2 separate regions of the Homo sapiens genome follow, and region 2 is linked to region 1. The links are contacts of gene promoters, found by promoter capture Hi-C in human tissues and cell types (Jung and others, 2019). All regions are on one chromosome and are shown on one strand. The core of a region is centred on a gene start or on the middle of the fragment in contact, and the rest is flanking DNA. Distances in the headings are between cores, read along the strand shown. Region 1 has its middle 8.3 kb from the start of AGL. Region 2 holds the start of DBT (dihydrolipoamide branched chain transacylase E2).

Region 1 (3,172 bases), core at 286-2,785:
CCAAGGATCACAAAAATAAAATGTCTGAAATGTTTTGAAAATAATACATGCTCTATAAATGGTAACAACTAATATTAATGAGCTTTTAAGAGGTGCCAGGTACTGTTCTAAGTTAACTCAATTTCCAGAACAACACTATTATTACCCCCACTATAAAGACAAGGAAACTGAGTACCCAAAGTTAAGTAACTTGTTTAAGATCACATAGTGAGCAAGTGAAGGAATGTGACTTCAATTGCATGCTCAGTGATTCTGTTCGGTAATGCTACATCTGAGGCAGTGATGCTACGTCCATGGCCTGGTAATCAATAAGATTTTATAAATTGAATTGGAATGTTGTTGGCTTCATATATGGCTATGCCAACAGTGAGTCTGTTTTCTTGATTCTAGGATATTCTCGCTAATCTAAGACTCTATCATCTTAGATATCTCCTTCAAGAAGTCTCTGCCTGCCGTGCCCTCCCTCCCATGGGTCTAGGTTAGGTGCTCCCTGGAGCTCCTTTGCTGTGGCTATGTTGTGCCATGTTGTGTAATAACTCATTATCCCACTAGATTTCTTCAGACAGGGCTGCGTTTTCTGTCTCTGGAAAACAGAATTACAAAATTATTTACACTACTTAGATATATTAAGAAACGTATATTTTATTCTTTTTGTTTGTTTGAAATGAAAGGTCTCACATATTTATTACTGAATCCAGCCTACCAGTGCACCAACAGCACATACACAGAGAAAAAAATATATATTCACAATAAAACATGTCCAACTGTCCAGATAGTGGTGACATTTTCAGCTTGATATGGTAAGATGGTTGTGACCTTGACACAGCATAAATATGTGTGCCATCTCATGTGTAATTCCGTACAGACCCAGCTTGATTCTTCTCCAATGTCTCCTTTTGGAGTTCTACCTGATTTTATTACCAGTTTTCATCTGGATCCACTGGGGGATGGGATGATTTTGCTTTTGTTTCTTGACCACGAAATGCTTAATCCTGAAAGTCTTGTGAGAAGACATGGCAAGAAGCAGAGTCAAGCACACACCTCGATGGCAGAGAAAGGAAGAGAGTATATTTTATTCTTAAAAGCTTCTCCAATTTCCTTTACCGTTTCCTAACTGCTAGGCAGGTGTGGGAAAACAAAAATAATTTTAGTCTAATCTGGTTGGAAACTAATTCTGAGCCAATTATTTAAATAATCTCTTTAACCCAGTCTCTTTGAAATCATTGTTCTATTGTTTCGACGCCCCTTTCTCTCTCTACTTTGTTCTAAGAGATGTCTAGTATAAGGAGCAGGATCTCACATGAACTGGTTGCACTGGGGGAGTTGAACTCTGTGACCTTGAACTGGTTCTTGTGCAGGGGCTGGCATCACCTAATGTGTATCTGTCTAGTCCTGTTCCTGGTAATCCTGTTGGCACAAACTATTGATGTCTGTAGCTGATAACTTCCTGTCTATTCTTTCTTGGCTTGGCCAGAGTCTAAAGGCATCCTCCTCCCCTACTGTCTCAGCCTTTCTTGATCCTACTTTCACTACAGACCCCTCTCTGAGTACCTAAAATGTTCTCTGCCTGGTCCAAGGCCCAAGACATCCATTTGATAAGGCTTTGCTGGAATCACCTCAACTCTGTCATGGTGGATCTATAAAATGTGTACTGGAGCTGAAACCCAGGTCCTATATGTAAGTGATCTTGCTTTACCCTCTTAATCATTCTAGGATCCCTCTTTTTGGACCCCCCCCAACCCCCGCACCCTTTTTGCCTAGTATAGCATTCTACAACCAGAGTTCAGAACAGGGAGCAGAACAAAAAGCCCTGTGTGCATTCAGTAAACACTGTGTTTGCTGTGTACTAAGCACTGTTCTATGCACTGGGGATACAGTAATGAACAAAACACACAAAAATCCTTGCCTGCATGGAATTTATAATCTAGTAATCCCCTCAACCTATTGGACTTGCTTCTATCATGATACATCAGACCGTTTCCTTCGCCTCCTCTTTTCTTTAGGTTTTCTCATCTTTACAATCTTTCAAACCCTTTCTTAAGAGAATGGGTTTCCCTTAGAAATTTTTTTGTTTCTCAAACTGCCCATAGTCTTGCTGCAAAATCCTATTTTGAATGTCAGGTGTTAAACATCACCTCTCCTTCCTCTATGCATTTATTCTATTACAATCCAAATCTCCTACAGAGGCAGATGGGTGTCTTAGGCTGAATGGAGAAAGTCTTGCATATTGCAAAGGCAAATAAGAAAGTACATTAATATCTTTAGAAATACTAACTTCATTATATCAGAAACAATAATGCACCATTCCCCCCTTCCAAATTCCTGGCAGCTACTCCTTTCTGTCTCTATGATGTTGATGACTCTAGGTACCTCATATAATAAAACCATACAGTAGTTTTTGTTACTGATTTATTTCACTTAGCAAAATATTGAGGTTCATCCATGTTGTAGCATGTGATAGTATTTCTTTTCTCTTTCTTTCTTTTTTTTTTTTGACAGGATCTCACTTTGTTGCCTACGGTGGAGTGCAGTGGCATGATTTTGACTCACTGAAGCCTCATCCTTCCAGGCTCAAGTGATCCTCCCATCTCAGCCTCCCGAATAGCTGGGACTATAGGCTCATGCCACCATGCCTAGCTAATTTTGTTTATTTTTATCTATTTATCTTGTTGAGACGAGTTCTCATAATGTTGCCCAGGCCTGTCTCGAACTCCTGGACTCCAGCAATCCTCCCACCTACCTGGGCCTCTCAAAGTGCTGGGATTACAGGCATGAGCCACCATGCCTGGCCTAGGATTACTTTTTTAAGGCTGTCTAGTATTCCATTTTGTGTACACACACATTTAGTCATCTGTTAATGGACATGTGGTTTGCTCTTGGCTCTTATGAATAATGCTATTAGGAACATGAGTGTATTAGTTTGTTTTCACACTGCTGACAAAGACATACCCGTGACTGGGTAATTTATACAGGAAAGAGGTTTAATGGACTTACAGTTCCATGTGGCTGGGGAGGCCTCACAATCATGGTGGAAGGCAAGGAGGAGCAAGTCACATCTTACATGGATGGCAGTAGGCAAAGAAAGAGCTTGTGCAGGGAAACTTCCCCTTATAGAACCATCAGATCTCATGAAACTTATTTACCAACACGTGAACAGCAGGGAAAGACCTGC
Region 2 (3,172 bases), core at 246-2,745, 410 kb before region 1:
AAAGTTGTATAGCAGCAGCTTGGAAGGGAGATGATTCACTTCAAAGGTACAACTGCCACTGCTTTTTATACAAACACATGCTTGTGGGATTATCAAATATATTAATAATGTCTATAAACATTTTTAAGGAAATGTAAAAACTTGAAATTCTTTTGACTACTCTAGATTTTCTGAGAAAGATAGCTATTTAGGCCGGACCCAGTGGCTCATGCCTGTAATCCTAGGACTTTGGGAGGCTGAAATGGGAAGATCGCAGTTTGAGACCAGGACTTTGAGACCAGCCTGGGCAACATAGAGAGATCCCATCTTGAACTTCTGAGCTCAAGCCATTTGCCTGCCTCAGCCTCCCAAAGTGCTGGAATTATGGGCAGGAGCCACCACGCCTGGCCCAAGAGACCCTATCTCTACCAAACAAACAAACAAACAAAAAAGATAATAAGATTTATTGTTTGCATTGATTTTTTGTGTGTAGATGTGTAATACATAAAATGGCAAATGAGGGGGAAAAGTGTTTGGGTCATATTAAACAATGAAGTTGTGAAATACCTGAGATTTTGTTTCATAACCACTAATCTTCAATGTTGAGCATTTAAAATGTATTTGTTCCAGTTTTTTTTCTCTGTAATTCCTTAGACATCTGTGCAGATTTTCATTCCCACGTAAGAAGCAATAACAGACTAATGTCATCCTGGACATTTCCAGGAATTGGTTTCCTAGTTGCTCTGAGGAAGATTGCCTTTTAAAAGAAAGCTCTGATCTGTTCTTTACCAGTTCCACTTGACCTGAATTTGACATTTCTTTAAGAGACAACTAAATCAAGATCATGTGTCTGTGACATGTATTGCATATGCTAGTTAGCTGCATCTGATAGCAGTCTGTAAAAAGAAAGATGATAACATGTTTATTTTAGACATTAGGTAATGTTCATCTTTCATGAAAAAAATTGATTAGCCAATTTTGGTAATCAAAAACATAAATGGGAGTAAAAAAGGCAGTCATTGGGAAGTACTGCTGTATGGACTTGTGAAACAACTAGTTGTCCAGAGCCTTGCTACAACGTATAGAAATATTCTATTTTCTGTATTTGGGGCGGCTACACTACAAGATGAAGACGGGGAAATGTTTTCCAACTCATCGCTCAGGTCCTACTGCAACATAACTTTCTTGAGGTAAGTACCTTTCTTTGTGTTTCCTTAACACTCTCTATTTTCCCCATCACATACACTAAAAAGATTATCTTTGGTGCATCTGTATTTACACAGCAGTGTTAAATTTGGGCTGCCCTCTGCCCCGCCTCCGTCCCCCAGGCTCTTTTCACTCCCCGCTGGGTCCCAGATCCTAGGGTTTAGCTCAGGCTCCGCCCTACTCCTTGGTTGGCTGTTGGGTGGGAGGCTCGTTTCTTCCCTCCCTATTGGTCGCCCAGGGGGAGGCGCGTTTCCCATCTCCTGATAGGCCGCGCCGAGGAGAGTCTCTCCAGTTTGCGGCACTGTTGTCATTTCCGGGGTAAGATGGCTGCAGTCCGTATGCTGAGAACCTGGAGCAGGAATGCGGGGAAGCTGGTAAGCACGTTTGGGCAGATCTGAGGCCGGGAAGGAGTGATTTGTCCGGAGTCATCCAGGAGTGGTGTTTTACTTTCTCCTCCGGTGCCAGGCGTCCAGGGCACGCGTGATGGAGAGGTGAAGGGATGCATGCAAAATAAAGGGCAGAGAACGGAGCGAGTCGACCAGTCTGGAGTGGAAACCCACTCCCTCCCCTTACCTGGAAGCGCTTCTGCAGCGACTCAGCCGTCCTGCTCCATCTGTACCCCGAGGCCCAGCTAGCGTTTTATTGAGCGCCTTCCAGGTGCCCAGGCATTGTGATAGGCGCTGTGGATCCAGAGATATATTCGTTTAGCATTTATTGCGTACCCACAGTATGCCAAACACTGGTAACACGACCCCTACCCTCAAGGAATCTACAGTGTGTAGAGGAAGAGGCCGTTCAAGTTATAGAATATCAGCAGGGGTCCCTGCTTCCGAAGAACTGAGCAGCTCGGCGTCACTCTTTTGCCTTGTACTTCTATGTCCGCACCACATATCATTCCTACCCTTTTGTCACCAAGGCTGTGACCCATCACCATCTCCCCTGCACTTCCTTCTCTTTCTCCCAGTCTTAGCACCAAGCACTGACACATACCGGTAATGATACTTGTTACCCCTATTTGCTTAGTGTTTCTTCTTCCTGCCTCTTCTCCCTTTCCCTAGATGCTCCTGCCTTGGTGACCCCGATCTTACAAAAACTTTCAAGAGCCTGCTATGTACCAGTGCTGTGTTAGGCACTGGAGATACAAATATGAAATAGACATCATATCTTCCTTCTCAAGAGATTACAACCTTGTGGTGGAGGACAAAGGAGAGGGAGACAGATAGAAATTACAACCCAGCATGAGAGGTACTGTGATGGGACAAGTGCCTAGAACTACAGGAACACACAGGAGTGGACACCTATGGTGGACTTGGGGGTCAGAGGAGTTCCCAGAGGATACTGTATGACTTGAGATGTAAGAAGGATAAGTAAGAGATAACCAGGAGAAGAGAGCTCTTCTCAGCAACACTTAACACATATTGGTCTCTCTTCTTTCTAGAGCTTTCCATTCTTGTTTTCTGTGACACCAGTTTCCCAATATTATTCTTTCTTCATCTTTGGCCACTTCATCCCAATATCCTGTTTCCCTTCCCGCCTTTTAAATATTGCTTTTTCTAAAGGGCTCTGACTTTGGCCCTCTGCACTTTTCCCACTTTCTGGGTTATCCCATCCACTCTTTGGCTTTAGTTACCATCTATGCTGATGAGTCCTAAAGTTCCCCAGTCTTCCAACCAGGTCTACTCCAAACCCATATATCCTACTGTCCTGGAAATCTCCAGTTTCATATGTACGTGATGTTTTCCAGCTGCAATTAAAAACCCAACCAATAAATAGGAAATTAAGTATCCATGCATACAGAGCATCCCCAATTAGATGTCAGCTCACATTAAGTGGCTTATGATTATCAATGTCGTCATTTCCCTAGTAGTTCATTTGTCCTTTTCCTACTGTATACAAGAGGGCTGCTACGACTTCTTCTTTTATGTTGAAGGCAGGAAGGTGGAAGAGGAGGAGGTTCCAGTCTCACTGGCCAGAACTGTGTTACATG

What was found. The method cuts DNA at HindIII sites, captures the fragments that hold promoters and counts their contacts. A contact is called where the count stands out against the background at its distance.
Region 2: a contact is called between the fragment with the promoter of DBT here and a fragment that was not itself captured in region 1, in 1 of the 25 tissues and cell types used here (hippocampus).

What each region holds. Positions count from the first base shown.
Region 1 is chr1:99,840,453-99,843,624 of GRCh38, reverse strand. It overlaps the pseudogene RPL39P9. Among named protein-coding and RNA genes, the nearest start is that of AGL, 8.3 kb to the left of the region's middle. The HindIII fragment of the contact is 7,409 bases long and covers 1-3,172 here.
Region 2 is chr1:100,248,157-100,251,328 of GRCh38, reverse strand. DBT (dihydrolipoamide branched chain transacylase E2) reads left to right here and starts at 1,495. Exons shown (of 11, transcript NM_001918.5): 1 at 1,495-1,559. The coding sequence starts at 1,509. RefSeq lists a silencer at 1,276-1,375 and enhancers at 1,486-1,605, 1,207-1,766, 1,767-2,326. The HindIII fragment of the contact is 17,632 bases long and covers 1-3,172 here.